Linked DNA regions of Homo sapiens: region 2 is linked to region 1. The links are contacts of gene promoters, found by promoter capture Hi-C in blood cells and fetal thymus (Javierre and others, 2016). All regions are on one chromosome and are shown on one strand. Each heading gives the region's core, a stretch centred on a gene start or on the middle of the fragment in contact. The rest is flanking DNA. Distances are from core to core; before and after follow the strand shown. Region 1 holds the start of RCAN3 (RCAN family member 3). Region 2 holds the start of RUNX3 (RUNX family transcription factor 3).

What was found. The method cuts DNA at HindIII sites, captures the fragments that hold promoters and counts their contacts. A CHiCAGO score of 5 or more calls a contact.
Region 2: a fragment that was not itself captured here is called in contact with the fragment with the promoter of RCAN3 in region 1 in 1 of 17 cell types (non-activated CD4 T cells); the score reaches 5.7 in non-activated CD4 T cells.

What each region holds. Positions count from the first base shown.
Region 1 is chr1:24,498,266-24,505,532 of GRCh38, reverse strand. It overlaps RCAN3 (RCAN family member 3), which reads right to left and starts at 2,697. Exons shown (of 5, transcript NM_013441.4): 1 at 2,383-2,697. It overlaps RCAN3AS (RCAN3 antisense RNA), which reads left to right and starts at 3,151. Exons shown (of 2, transcript NR_144360.1): 1 at 3,151-3,185. RefSeq lists silencers at 648-848, 2,355-2,854, 3,136-3,308 and an enhancer at 3,912-4,011. The HindIII fragment of the contact is 2,473 bases long and covers 1,434-3,906 here.
Region 2 is chr1:24,924,549-24,931,815 of GRCh38, reverse strand. RUNX3 (RUNX family transcription factor 3) reads left to right here and starts at 1,540. Exons shown (of 5, transcript NM_004350.3): 1 at 1,540-2,229; 2 at 4,086-4,242. The coding sequence starts at 1,948. RUNX3-AS1 (RUNX3 antisense RNA 1) reads right to left here and starts at 1,359. Exons shown (of 4, transcript NR_183341.1): 1 at 1-1,359. RefSeq lists enhancers at 1-426, 1,866-2,599, 2,772-2,951, 2,600-3,334, 4,746-5,015 and silencers at 1,192-1,661, 1,862-2,301. The HindIII fragment of the contact is 2,832 bases long and covers 2,671-5,502 here.

The sequences.
Region 1 (7,267 bases), core at 1,448-3,947:
CAAAACACTTGGACTGGTGTGGTGGCTCATGCCTGTAATCCCAGCACTTTGGGAGGCGGAGGCAGGCGGGCTGCCAGAGCTCCAGAGTTCGAGACCAGCCCGGGCAACATGGAAAAACCCCGTCTCTACAAAAAAACACATGGTGCACGCCTGTAGTCCCAGCTACTCAGAAGGCTGTGGTGGGAGGAATACTTGAGCCTGGGAGGCCAAGGCTGCAGTGAGCTGTGTTTGCACCACTGCACTCCAGCCTGGGCAACAGAAGGAGATCTCAAAAAAAAGAAAAAAAAAAAAAAAAAAAAAGAAAAAAGAGAAAAAAAAAAACAAAGCAACAACAAAAAGCCACTTAGGATCGTCAATGCGAAGTTCTGAACGGCTATCACGAAGCCCTACCTTCTATTCTCTACTCATTTACCACTTACAGGTAGAACTGTACTATTTTTTAGTAGCTGTGTGTAAGAAAAATTTCGTGCGACAGTAAAGTAAAACGGGTGAAAATTTGATTTTTGTATTTTGTATGTTTCAATGACCCATGTCTTGTTTTCACAGATAACCTAGAATTGGTCCTGTTATAATTGAAGTTCCACTCCACCAGGAATTTGTCAGCAAGAGACAGATAGAAATAAACAACAAAAACCAGCCTACAAAACATATGAAAACAACAGGTTTTAAAGAATAACTGAAGTTGAGATATATAAGACTGATGCTATTTGTTGTGCTGTGTATAATTTCTTTTCCCTGGATAGAACCTCTACATTCTAGGGGAAAAGTGGAGATTGCTGTCCGACCTCCACCTTCTGTGTTTTTTTTCTAAGTAACAAACGGTGTTGAACTTTAGAGCTTCCATTATTTCACAGGCTTCAGGCTAATGGATTTCCGCGTCACACTATTTTTCATGCTTTAAGTCCTTCAACCAACAACTCTAACACCATATAAAATCTGCTCTTGTCTGTTACCTAATGTTCACATGTTTGAAACCTTTACAAACGTTATATTTCAACAGCAGGAAAAATCTTGTTTCCTAGAAAAGCACTGAAATCTGTTTTCAGGCTAAGAGAGAAAAGGTTTGGCTGGGTGCGGTGGCTCATGCCTGTAATCTCAGCACTTTGGGAGGCAGAGGTGGGCGGATGGCTTGAGCCCAGGAGTTCAAGAACAGCCTGGGCAACATAGTGACACCCAATCTCTACAAAAAATTAGCCGGCATCTGTAGTCCCAGCTACTCAGGACGCTGAGAGGTGGGAGGATCGCTTGATCCTGGGAAGTTGAGGCTGCAGTGAGCTGTGTTTGCACCACTGCACTTCAGCTGGATGACAGAGCGAGGCCTTGTCTCAAAAAGAAGAAAAGAGAAGAGAAGAGAAAAGAAAAGGCAAGGCTTGCCAATGCAGTAAAATGTAAAGCTGATGACCTGGCTAAAGAAGAGACTCAGTTTTCAAGCTTTTCACAGTCTTCCTGGATGGAAAGCCCATTTCTAGATCAATTTAAATCCCCACCAAAAAGAACACATTTGTGTGATGCATATCTGGCTCCTGAATTATGTGTTTACAGAGTTTAAGATATTGAACCAAAGCCAATGAAATAGTCTTAAAACAAATTACTTTACATCGTATGTAATCACAGCTACAGATAAATCAATTGCTTCTTTTGCCAAATAGTACATCAGAGACTTCTATGAAAAGTTCAAATAAATGTGGTGTACTTGGTGGCTTCCAACAAGTGGAAGCGAATATTTTTGGCTTTCAGCACTACAGGAAAACATCACTTTAAATAATCCTTGTTTGTATCTGAAACACGGATCTGGATTGCTTCCTACACTAGAATCCTAATCTCTAAAGGAGATGATCAGATTTTGCACGGAAGCTAGAAGAATCAACCTGGAACAGATCACTCCTGCCCTACCTGTCCAGGCGGCGGACAGAAGCAGACAGACAAGTTTCAAGAAGTTAGGGAGTCACTAATGCGATGGTGATCCACGCACCGTGGGGGAAGCGGGGCAAGGGAGAAAGACAGGGGGCTTCCACCTTCCAGGCGCCCCTACACCGCTCCTGCCTTCACAGGCAGGCTGGGCCTGTCGGCTTTTCAAAAGGTCAAACACACTTGGTGGGAGAAAATCGTTGGTGGAGAAGACAAAACATTTTTGTTTTGTTTTCCGGGACACCACCCTCGAGGCTGCCAGACTAGACCCCGCGCGCGAGAAGGGTGCGGCGGGAGGCGAGGTCGCGGGAGGCGAGGTCGCGCGCGGTAGCATCTCCCGGTCCCGCGGCTCGGAGTGCCCACCCCTCCCGGACTTCTCGGGGCGGCTTTTTTTTTTTTTTTTTTTTTTTTAACTTTTCATGCACCACCCCCCCCACCCGCCCCGCCCCGCCCCGCCCCGCGCTGGGTGCAAACCTGCTGGAGAGGCCGGGCGCCGTGGGGCCTCACCTGCACGCCCCGCCGCCGCAGGACGGGAGCCGGGAGGGCAGCGGACGGGCCCGGGCTGCCCGACGGGGCTGCGGGGAGCCGGACGGCGCGAGCTGCGGGGCCTCTGGGAGCCTGGTGGGCGGCGGGCGGGGCCGAAGGCAGAGCCGGGAGCCGCCTGCAGCAGCAGCCTCGCCGCCACGCCCTCGACGCCGGCGAGAGCGGCCCCCTGGGCTGGGACTAGGGCGGTGTCCCGGCTGAGCTAGGCTGCCGGCGCCGCGCGCCCGCCTCGTCCCCTCCTGTTCTGGCAGGGCGCGCGCACGGCGGCGCAGGCGCCAGAGCCCAGGACAAGGCGGGGACCCGGGCGGGGACCGGGGCGGGGGCGCGCGGGGGCCGGGGTGGGGGTGTCTCGCCGCGCGCGCCCTCCTCCCGCTCCTCCGGGTTCCTGGTCCCCAGCCTGTGGGGGGCTTGGGCTGTAGCGCTGGGGCGGGGGCTTTAGATCACCCCGAAAACAGGACCTCTGGCGACCTTCTCGTTTTCCACCGGGAGCGGAGAGAGCCGATCTCCTTTTCCTGCTAGCCCCGTAGGACAGTCCCCGGAGCAGCTCATAGGAATATGACGAACGTTTACTCAGGGCTGGTTACTATGTACACTGCGCCCCGCGCGCGGCGAGTTTACCTCGGTTCACCTCCCGGCAACCGGCGGCCCGGATATTATCAGATGCTGTGGGCTTCCCGGCGCCTCATTGCCCGAGGAGAGGCGGCCGCAGGTAGCTGAGCTGGAGCTAGCACAAGGTGTGGGACGGCACAGGCTGGGTCCCGCCCTGGCGGGTACAACCCTCTTCCCCTTACCCACTCCTTCCCCTCCCCTCCCATCCCCTCCCCTCCTCTCCTCCCCACTCGTGCTCTTCTCCCTCCTCCCGCTCTCCCTCCTCCTCTTACTCCTCTTCACCCTATGCCCTATCTACCGTTGTCATACAATCCACATGTTTAATGCTTTCTTTTTCGTGTAAAAACCCTTCCACGCAGTCTTGCTTGTCTCCGACGCCTTAGGAGACCATGGGACATGATTACAACTATTACGCAAAGGGAAGAGCCGGGGTCTAAGCTGTTGAGCGAGTTTCAGTGATAGGACCGAGGCTTACATTGGCAGGTATTATTACCACCAATAACAACTATGATGACAAAGCTCCTGAGCCCAACTTGGAAGGCAGCTGGTGTCTCTTCCCTTAGCCGGCAGAGAAGGAAGCAGGGTCACACAGCAGGGAAAATAACTGGGCTCATCTCCCACCTACAAGGACGCGCAGTCACGCAGTGGTGCGCACCCGTAGTCCCAGCTAACTCAGGAGGCAGAGGTGGGAGGATCGGTTGAGGCCAGGAGTCTGAGACCAGCCTGGACAGCATAGCAAGACTCCGTCTCAAAAAAAAAAAAAAAAAGGAATGTGCAGTTAGAAGAAAATCAGCTCTCATTACCCACTCAAGACCTTTCAGAGGCAAAGTGAGGCACAGTGAAGCTTAACATCAAAGGCACTCAGCGCCTGCATCATGGGGCAGGAAGATGGACTAAAATGTGTACAGCACATCTAATCCCTGTTAGATGTAAACTAAGAAATCAGGGTTGGATTATGACCCCAAGGGCTCCCCAGCAGTTGAGCCCAGCATAGTCACCGAGGTATGTCCAGCAGATCGCCCCTCCTACTTCCTGCTTGCTGCTTCTGTGGTTCCTGCTGCCTCCAACCGTGCTGCTCCTGCTCCCCATCTTGTCTTAAACTAAGTTCTTCACTTTCATTCGTTTAACTAATATTGATGGCAAGCTGCTTCTTTTGTCAAGGTCACTCTAAGGACTATAGTAATTATTTTTTCTCTAAATTCCTCTAACACAGCAACTTTTGCAAAAATTGAGGGTTGTTTTTTTTTTTTTTTTTGGTGTTTTTTTGTTTGTTTTGAGATGGGTCTGCTCTGTTGCCTAGGTTGGAGTGCAGTGGCACAATCATAGCCTCAACCATCCAGGCTCAAGTGATCCTCCCATCTCAGCCTCCTGAGTAGTTGGGACTACAGGCACATGCCACCATGCCTGGCTAATTTTTCTACTTTTTGTAGAGACAAGGTTTCACAATGTTGCCCAGGCTGGTCTCAAACTCCTGAACTCAAGCAATCCTCCTGCCTTGGCTTCCCAGAGTGCTGGGATTATAGGCGTGAGCCATTGCACCTGGCCAAAAAATTGAGTTTTCACATCAAATGAGATTGGAAACAGCTGCATTCCATAGCCCTGCCTGGAGATGTCTGATGCACGTTCACACAAAAAAAATGGCCCTGAGAGATCCTAAGTCAAACAACCAGATTAGCTTAATTTAGTTTCCCTGAGGTATTAGGCCCTGTGTGGGTGTTGGGCTTGCAAGGGTAAGGTCCATAGAGATCTGCCACCTGAGGAGCTCACAGATGGGGGAGACAGTGATTGTGATACAGTTGTATTTGTGCACTGAGACATTTGCAAAGTGCTGACAAAGCAGAGGAAGAAGTGAGCAATCCTACATGATGGTTCAGGGAACGGGGTTCGCATTTTCCAGTATTATTCAAGATTCTCTTTTTTTCATGGAATACATCAATCAGACTGGGTTAAGCAGCAAATGGAATGCATTGACTCACATAATAGAAAAGTTTGGGGCTTCAGGCATGGCCGGATTCAGGGGCTTAAACTACGACATTAGGATTAAGTTTTTTCTCTCCATTTTTTTTTTTTTTTTTTGAGACGGAGTCTCGCTCTGTCGCCCAGGCTGGAGTGCAGTGGCGCGATCTCGGCTCACTGCAAGCTCCACCTCCCAGGTTCATGCTATTCTCCTGCTTCAGGCTCCCGAGTAGCTGGGACTACAGGCGCCCGCCACCACGCCCGGCTAATTTTTTGTATTTTTAGTAGAGATGGGGTTTCATCGTGTTAGCCAGGATGGTCTCGATCTCCTGACCTCGTGATCTGCCCACCTCGGCCTCCCAAAGTGCTGGGATTACAGGCGTGAGCCACCGCACCCGGCCTCCATTTCTTGACTCTATTTCCTGTTGACTTTGCGTTCTTAGGCTTCCTTTTCCCCATGAGATGGCAGAATGGCTGCTTACAATTTCAGATCACACCCTTTCCAGCAGAAAGGGAGTTTCTTTTCCCTGATGCTGTCAACAAAAGTCCCAGGACTACATCCCATTGGTCTAACTTGTGTTACCCGTGCATCACTAAACCACTCTCCTGAGAAGGGGCATGGAACATTCTGACAGCTCCTCACAAATCGCGTGGACTGAGATTTGGGGAGAGGTGGCTTCCTGTGCTAGATCATTTCTGTTGGCCCTTCCAGACCTACTCTCCACCCTTTTCCTTCCTGATTTGAACCTCAAGAGGCCAACCTGCATGGACTGCTTCCACAGATCCCTTGTCCTCTGACTTACAGTTGAATTCACCAAATAGAAGACATTGGAAATGAGACCCGAGGGTTGGAGGAGGAGGAAGGTAAGGGTATTATTCCTCTGGCCCCTGCCCTTCTGGGTCGCTGCAGGTTGGCTACATGTATTTATTGAAGCTTCTGTCAACTGGCCTTCTTCACACAGCTACTCTCTCCTAGTTCTAGTAAATTCTCCCTTCTCCACCTCCAGAATTATCCACCCTGGAGGTGATAATGGCTCCCCTCTGTTGCCTGCCACAGTGTATCACACCATCAGCCCTGCTTTTTCCCTCAACCCTGCCCACACATCTGTATGTAACCTTTACTAAACCCCCTTTAGATTAATCATCTGCTGGGATGCTGATGGTTACATTCAACAAAGGAGATTCAAGTCTCTATTACCAAAAGAAAGGGGAATGAATCAAGGGCAGGCAACAGCACTATGGTACTGATATTGGTTTGGAAGAAGTATCACCATAGTGCAGACCACAGATGACTGTGGCTTGGACAGGGTCGTGATGGGGGAAGCAATGAGAAATGGTAGGATTCTGGCTATATCTCAGAGGCAATGTTAACACAGTTTACTGAGGAATTGTATGTAAATCATGAGCAGTAGAGAGGAGCTGAGGGTGGAAGTAGTTGGAAAACATGCATCTGGAGCCTAGGAGTGAGCTCAATGAGTAGTGATTTGGGAGGGAGGCGCGTTAGTTAGTTGAAACCACGGGCTCAGATGAAATGACCCGGGGAGCCCACGTAGAATAGAACACAGAAAGGGCAAAAGGCAGAATCTAGAAGAACAAACACCAGCCTTTCCATGGTGAACAGAGGAAGAGTTGCCATCTTGTATCTATCGTCTAGATCGTGGGCAACTCGATAACTTGAGCGCAAGAACAGAATCTTCCACATCCTTCCTTTTTACCATCGTGTCTAGCGAGGTGATGACCACACGGTGGGTAATCAATGCTTGTTATGAATGAACTTGACAGTTCCACATTTCTAACACTCCCTCCCTCTCCTTCTCATGTGAGGTTTGAGTTACAGGCCGAGAAAAAGAGAAATTGATCCCTGTGGCTCAATCCGTTGAAACCTATGCCCAGGGTGCTAAGCATTTCGCTGCCCTGGAAAACTTCAGTAGAACCTCTCAGACAATGCCACAGATCCCGAGTAGCACACCTCTTGCCTTTTAGGAGAATTTCCAGACCAGCGATTTCATTTCAGATTTTCTTATTCCAGATTTTCTTATTCTTATTTGAGTAGATTTAACAGTAAATATCCTAACAAATCCTTATTAGGTTTGTTTTGGGTTTGTGCTATGAAAATGATACAAGTGGCAAAAGATCTCCATCTCACATGCATACATTAGTAGTGGAATGTAAAAGGATGCAACTGATTTTTGGAAACTGCCAGTTTATCAAGCTAAACGTACACCTACCCTATGACCCAGAAATTCCACTC
Region 2 (7,267 bases), core at 2,837-5,336, 420 kb before region 1:
GCGTGCTGTGAGGTCCCGAGGTGGGTAGGGGCCAGCTCTCCCGGTGGTCGGGGTGAGTCCAGAGTCCTTCGCCCCTGGAGCGCACGCGGGGCTTGATTTCGTTTGGCAACGACGAAATGGCGCGCGCTGAGCAGGGGTCAGATCCATGATGAGATCTTGCGGCCACCGTCGGATCCTAAGCTTCTTTGCTTCCGAGGCTTGGAATTCATTGTTTTGCACCTGTCGAGAGCCGGAGGCAACGAAAATCTAGCCCCGTCTCCAAAGCGGCGGGGAGGCTCAGCACGCGTTCGTTCCCCAGAGTCTAGGGAGGTGTCTGGGGCGATAATTCGGAATGATTGTGGCTTGATCTTTCCCGTTGCCCTCCCAACTGTAGCCGGCCCCTAGGTCTGCTCGACAGACTTAGGAGGCGGGAGAGGAAGGGGTGATTTGCAGTGAAGCCCAGGAGAGGTTGGGCCACGCGGCTGGGAGTGGGAGCGGGGACCCGGAGCCGGGCGGGCAGGCAGTGCCTTGGCGAAGCTGTCCGCGGTCCCTGCGGCGCAGCCGGAGCGCACGGGCCCAAGAAGAAGTGGGGTTGGACCCGCAGAGGCCACTTTCCACCCGCATGGAGAAAGAAAATTCTCTCCTCTGAAAGCGAGGGCCCTTAGCTTTGCAGCCACTGCTGTTTTTCTTTTGCCACCGACGCGCGTACCGTTTCACGATGCAGGACCGTGGTTACATGCGTAAAGGAAAAAAAGAAAAACGCATTTTGCAGGCCTCGTCGTGTTTTTCAAAGAGCCACAGGCCGCCACAACGAAGAACGACGCCGCGAGGCCTGCAAGATCCTGAAACTTGTTTTGAGGGGAGAGCAGAGAGGAAAGGGGTTGTTGGCCCCAGGCTACTTAGGGTCCCTAGGAGACTCCCTTCCGCCTGTCCCCGGTTTGGCACAGGGGCCACCGAGGCTGGGACCAAAGCCGCGCAGGGCTGGGAGCAGCAAAGGCCGCCGGCCGGGCGTGGACGACGCGCAAAATCCCGTGTGGGGTGGAGGCTCTTGGGTCAGAATAATGTGCGGGACGAGGGAGGTGAGTAACCTCTTTGGGGCGGCTCCCAGTGCGGCGTCACCGGCCCTGAGACCCCGCGGCCCCCAGCCCGGGGTTGCAGAAGTCACAGGCCCGAAGCAGCAAGAGCTGGGGAAGCCCGGCCGCGGCCAGCGGGGAGGAGGAGCGAAGGGGTTGCGCCCCAGCGTCAGGGAGCTACGACCCGAGAGAGGGCGGCAAGGGCGCCTTCCGTGGGACCCGGACGTTCTAAGCAAATTTCTAGCATTTGCCCCGGGCTCCCAGAGCTCTCGGGGGCCCTGGGCTGTGGCACTGGGGCCTCCTCCGCGGGGTGGCGCCTTCCGCCCCTCCCCGTTGGGCGGCCTCCGGCAGGCCCCGTTCCTCCCCGCGAACGCCACCGAGGTGCCCGCGATGGGGGCTCCGCCGATTGGCTGTGCGACGCGTCGCTCCGCCAGCCCCGCCCCGCGGGCCCCGGGGGTACTAACCCCGCGCGGGCGGCCGCGGCCCCGCCACTTGATTCTGGAGGATTTGTTCTGGGGCTGCGGCCGCGGAGTCGGGGCGGCCGCGGGCGAGCTTCGGGGCGGGAGGCGGCGGCAGCGGCACAGCCCCGCGCGGGCCCCGCCGCGGCCCAGGCAGCCGGGACAGCCACGAGGGGCGGCCGCACGCGGGGCCGCGCGCCGAGGATGCGGGACTAGCCGGGCAGGCTGCGGGCGGCCGTCGGGCCAGCGAGGCCTCGCAGCGGGCGGGCCCTGGCGAGTAGTGGCCGGGCGCCGCCCCCTGCGCCCTGAGGCCCGGGCCCCGCCGCTTCTGCTTTCCCGCTTCTCGCGGCAGCGGCGGCCGAGGAGGCGCCCGCGCCGGCCGCCCCCGGGGGAAGCCGCGCCGTCTCCGCCTGCCCGGCGCCCTGACGGCCGCTGTTATGCGTATTCCCGTAGACCCAAGCACCAGCCGCCGCTTCACACCTCCCTCCCCGGCCTTCCCCTGCGGCGGCGGCGGCGGCAAGATGGGCGAGAACAGCGGCGCGCTGAGCGCGCAGGCGGCCGTGGGGCCCGGAGGGCGCGCCCGGCCCGAGGTGCGCTCGATGGTGGACGTGCTGGCGGACCACGCAGGCGAGCTCGTGCGCACCGACAGCCCCAACTTCCTCTGCTCCGTGCTGCCCTCGCACTGGCGCTGCAACAAGACGCTGCCCGTCGCCTTCAAGGTGAGTGCGGGACCCGGGGCGGGAGGGCGCCGGCCCTGGGGCTCCGGGCGTCTGAGCTGCGGGAGCCAGAGCCTCGGGAGCAGTGGGGATGGGAGGTGCCCGAGACGCCGCGGCGACACCCGGGCACCCGGTTCAGTCTGGCTGCGCGCTCGGCTCCGGGACCTCGGCGTTCCGTTTTGGATGCGCCCTGCAGGAATGACTTTTAACGGGGTTGCCCCGCTCCACCTGGGTTTTGGGGCGCCTTGCGTAGAGACGTTGGTGCGGAAATGGGCGGATGGGGTTTTGCGCCCCCCTAACCCGGATCGCTCAGATACAGCCCTGCGGGTAACGGAGAAGAGGATCCCGGGACAGGGGCAAGGACACCGCGGGTGGGGTGCGAACGGTGAAAGGGCCTACCCTCCGCCTCCAGCACCCCTCCTCCCGCGCCGCTTCGCAAAAGCTTCCTGCTCACACCCTCGGGCTTCCGAAATTTTACCGGACGGCGCTAGGCCGGGATCGGGGCACTGCTCTCCAGACGTTTGCTCGGGGATATTATGCGTCCCGAATGGCGAGTTGAGATTGGGGGACCCCTAACCCTGGCAGCCCCCAGCCATTTAGAGGACCTTTTTCTTTATGCCAGGGAGTAGGCGACTGTTTCATTTTCATTTTTTTAAGGGGGCAGCGAGATGAAACGAAAACGCCTCGGTTTTCCCCTAAACCTCTCACAGCTGCCGTGAGAAAAGGGCAGGGCAGGAAGGGCCGGCGGCTGGGGGTGGTGCTGCCCGAGGTGGCTGGAAGCTGAGGCCGTCCCTGCTCCCATTAAGACGACTCTAAATGGGAAAAAAAGGAAGAGTGGCTCTTTGAGGTCTCCCGGGTGACATCTTAAAATACCAGTGGGGGAAATCTCGCCGGGAGGGGCGGGAGGCCCGTGTGACTTTAATCGTCAGATCGGAGGTTTTACTGTCACTTGGAGCTTAAAAGGAGTCTTTGAAATTAAAAGAAGACAGGATGTTGACAGGAAATCTGGTCTTCTTAATCAGATCCCAAACATTTTCTCCTTGAAATTTTTACCATATGGATCCCCAGTCCCTGCACGCGGCGGCCACGTTTAAATAGTTGTGACTCTGTTTAAAGTCTGATTCTTTTTCAAAAGGCATCCGCCTCTCCGTGCTCCTGGGGGTGGGGGATTTGGGGGAGATGGTGTTTAGGGGGACATCGCCACCCCCATCCTGCAATTCCCGGCAGGTGCATCCTTCCATTATCAAAAGCCCCACTCTCACTTTAAAGGGGTTTTCTGGTGGCCTTTTTCAAAACACCAGTGAGTTTTGCATTCTGCATTTTCTCTGCATAACGAATTTAGGCTCTGCAGAGGCCAATAAACTGGGCCTGGTCCACATTTCAGGGCCAAATTTCATGCCCTAAACAGCTCTTGCATAAATTGAGTGGGGGTAGCAGCCCTGTTGTTATTATTGTTGTTACTCTTTCTCATTTGGAGACTTCGTTGCTAGGAGCATGTTGATTCCTCTTTCGCTGCAGCCGAAGACAACAGGGGAACTGCACCCCACATCATAGTGACTGAGCTGATTCACAGCTCTGGCTTAGATTTCATTGAAAGGATGATTTCTTGGGACACAGTTTATGTAAGCAGTTGATCTAGGATTTTGGTGTGGAAGCTCGAGATTCCATCTTCTTGTTTTCGTGATATTTGGGGGAAGGTCTTTATTGTTTTTAAGCCTCTTCTCCACCCTGCATTGGAGAAATACTCAGTGTGCCTGGGACCTGGGGGAGCTGCCCAGCCCAGCCCCTCCCCTCCTTTCCCTGGTCACCCTCTTCCTTTCTAAGCTGTCCCCCTGCATCCCCCCGCCCCGTGTCTTCAGGTGGTGGCATTGGGGGACGTGCCGGATGGTACGGTGGTGACTGTGATGGCAGGCAATGACGAGAACTACTCCGCTGAGCTGCGCAATGCCTCGGCCGTCATGAAGAACCAGGTGGCCAGGTTCAACGACCTTCGCTTCGTGGGCCGCAGTGGGCGAGGTAAGTGGAAGGGAGGCCTCGCCATTTCAGCATTGGCAATGGCAGGGGCAGCAGGGAAGGAGGTTGAAAGAGGGGCCTTAGAATCCCGAAAAACAGGTCTCCAGATGCAGCTCTGTCTAAAAACAGCAATTTGTAATCCTGTAGGATATTACAGATCGCTTTGAGGAGGTGAGGAAAGTTATGGTCTCTTGCCAGAAAAAGACAATTTTCTCCCAGTTTCTAGGGTTTACCAACTCCTGAAACCGTTCATGCCACCCCCTCTTTCCCGGTTAAGCACACCTGGTCTCACAAAAAATGCTGGCAGGAGATGGTGGATTAACAAGCTCAAAAAGGGAGCTTATAGGTCTTTCAGCAAGGCGGTTGCAGGACAAGTCCCTGATCTGTGGGGCCCAAGCACCCCAGCCACTCTCTCCATAGGGGGCAGAATATCCCCCACACTCTGAGGCTGTCTCTCCAGCTGTGGTCTCCCAGACCCAGTTTCCCAGCGCCTTTGAGCCCTAGGTGGTCTAGAACGGAAGCTAACGCAGCTGAATGTTGGAAAGCACAGCTCGAAGGCTGCCATCTCCTGCCCCAGAGTCAAGGCGGGTGTGCCACCCTGCCTGTCTGACCGACCTTGAGCAGCAGAAGGAAGGCGGGACGGGGGTGGGGGGCTGTTGAATGGGAGGCTTCTGGGACCTGAAACCCATCATCACTTAACTCCTGGATGGGAAAGTCCTGGAAACCCTGCCCCTGTGGAACGGAGGCCTGAGGGTCCACTGGCCCTTTAAGACCAGCCTGCCTACGAGAAGTGGCTGAAGTGGGAGTCGCCCTTCCCAAGCACCAGGCCCGCCTCTAGCTTTGTTAAGAAGTAAGCTGGGTTCCCTCTGCTCCCCAACTCCACAGCAGGCTGAAGTGGCTGAAGCAGAACCGTGCTTTTCATCACCAATAAACAGGACCTTCTCAAGGTTCTAGTTCCCTCTGAGCTGCCAGCCCCGCTCTGAAACAGGCATCTGGGCACCATTTTTTCCTTTCCAGCCGTTCGATGTATACATACAAATGTCAGCCATATTTTGACTTTTCAGCATTAATTAAAACCAGGACATTATTTGCATGTAATAACTGTTTACTTGTTACTTTTTATGAAACTGAAATAGTTTACATTCTTTCAAACATTTCCTGTTCCTGTTGGCTCCCTTCCCCACACACAGATTTCTTTCAAACGGTGCCCTTAACTGGTTGCAGGTTGATGGATGGAAAATGTTTGCTTTTATGAATTAAGCTTTCATTGCTGCTCCTAATTAGTCTCCAAGTCCCTTTTGTCATCCCCAATCTCTCAAACCCTTTGCGACTTAATCCCAACCCTGAGAGGACAGTCACTGGTCCTTGGTCGGTGGCAGACAAGGCTGATGAGCTCTGCTGACTGCGGGGCAGTGGCCAGGTCTGCTAGCCCAGGTATGTGTCAGGAGCACTATAGCTGCTGCCTGTTGCGAGGCGGGCAGAAGGTGCTGTCGATCTGGGAGCCCAGCAAGGCATCAGGAACTTGATTCTCCCTTCCCACTCTCTCTCCTGGGAAGCGAGAGAAAGAGAAGAGACGACGATTTTCTGAGTTACCGAGACCTTGTCTGGCCATTCTGCACACTGAGAATGATTTTTTTAGGGGTTTTCATGCCCACAGACCTTGAGCCCCCCTCCCCAGGCCTGCAGGGAGGGAAATGGGTTTCCAAGGCGTTGGTTGGGAGCTTGTCCTTGTAGCAGGAATGGCCGAGGCTGGGACTGTGGCTCTGGGAGATGCAAGAGGCTGAGTTTATAAACCATTCTCTCATCCATCTCCTCTCAGAGGTCCATAACCAGTCTCAGTGGTCCTGGGAGGCAGGAAGTGATCTGAGGAGGAGTTCCGATGTCTGAGGAACTGTGGCTAAGGCGTTCAGCCTTCAGAGGCTCGAGGTCTTTGAGAGCCTGCATTCTAGTATCAGCCACCCTGCGTTTGAGTCCCAGCTCTGCTAATGACTTGCTGGATGACATTGGGCAAATGACTTAACCACTCTGTGCCTCAGTTTCCTCATCTGTGAGATGGGGATGATAATGGTACCTACCTCATGAGATTTTGGGAAGGTTAGGGAAATTGACACAAGTGTATCAGCTGGCGCATATTGAGAGCTGGATACATGTTAGAGATTTTGTTACTTCAAATGCCTGGGACTGGAGGAGGACTTTGAGGTCCCTTTGAGCGGTGACAGCCACTGATTCTCTGATTACTGTGTGGTTTGGGCGGGGGTGGGGGAAACCCAGAAGGTGTGAACTGCTGAGTGGGAGAGGTGGAGGCGGTTGGCAGGGAGGAAGGAGGGTGCCGGGTCCGCTGGCATGCAGACACACATCTGCAGTGCCCATCCTGCTGACTGGGAAATTCCCACCTGAGAGAACAGTCAGTGGTTGACAGTGACAATCTGGGCCACTTTAGGAGATGGGACACTTTGGGAGTTAAGACTGGGGGTTGGGACCCAGAACCCTTGCCTGGGTCTCTTGACTTCTGCCAGAACTAAGAAGTCTGATGGAAACCTCTGCTTGTTGCCTCAATTTTTAGTTCTACATTCTGTCTGAATTCCAGGAAGATGGCTTTCCATGAAAGACACGCACCCAGTAACACCACAGAGCTCTTAACAACAGGGCTGAAGGTGTGAACCAAGAAAAGGAAGGGAGGAAAACCAGGTCATTGCTGTCTCCTGCAGTGATTAGGGCTGAGGTCCCTGCCCTGCCAGACACGAGGAGCCTTTCTTACAATACATATTTTATATCAAGCCTTACTATTCTACGTTGAAATGTATAAATAATGAAACCTACCTATTTACATGCAGTTGCAAACTATGTTATTCCATAGCTATGATGGAGAAAAAAAGGGAAAGTAATTTATAATAAAACACTGATTTGAATATGTAAACGTTGGGGCCACAGGACTCCATGAGGTGGACGAATGCCCTCCATGCAGAAGCCCACAGCAGAGGGAACAGGCAGGGTGGCAGGGCTCAATCTGAACCTGGCCTTGCTGCCA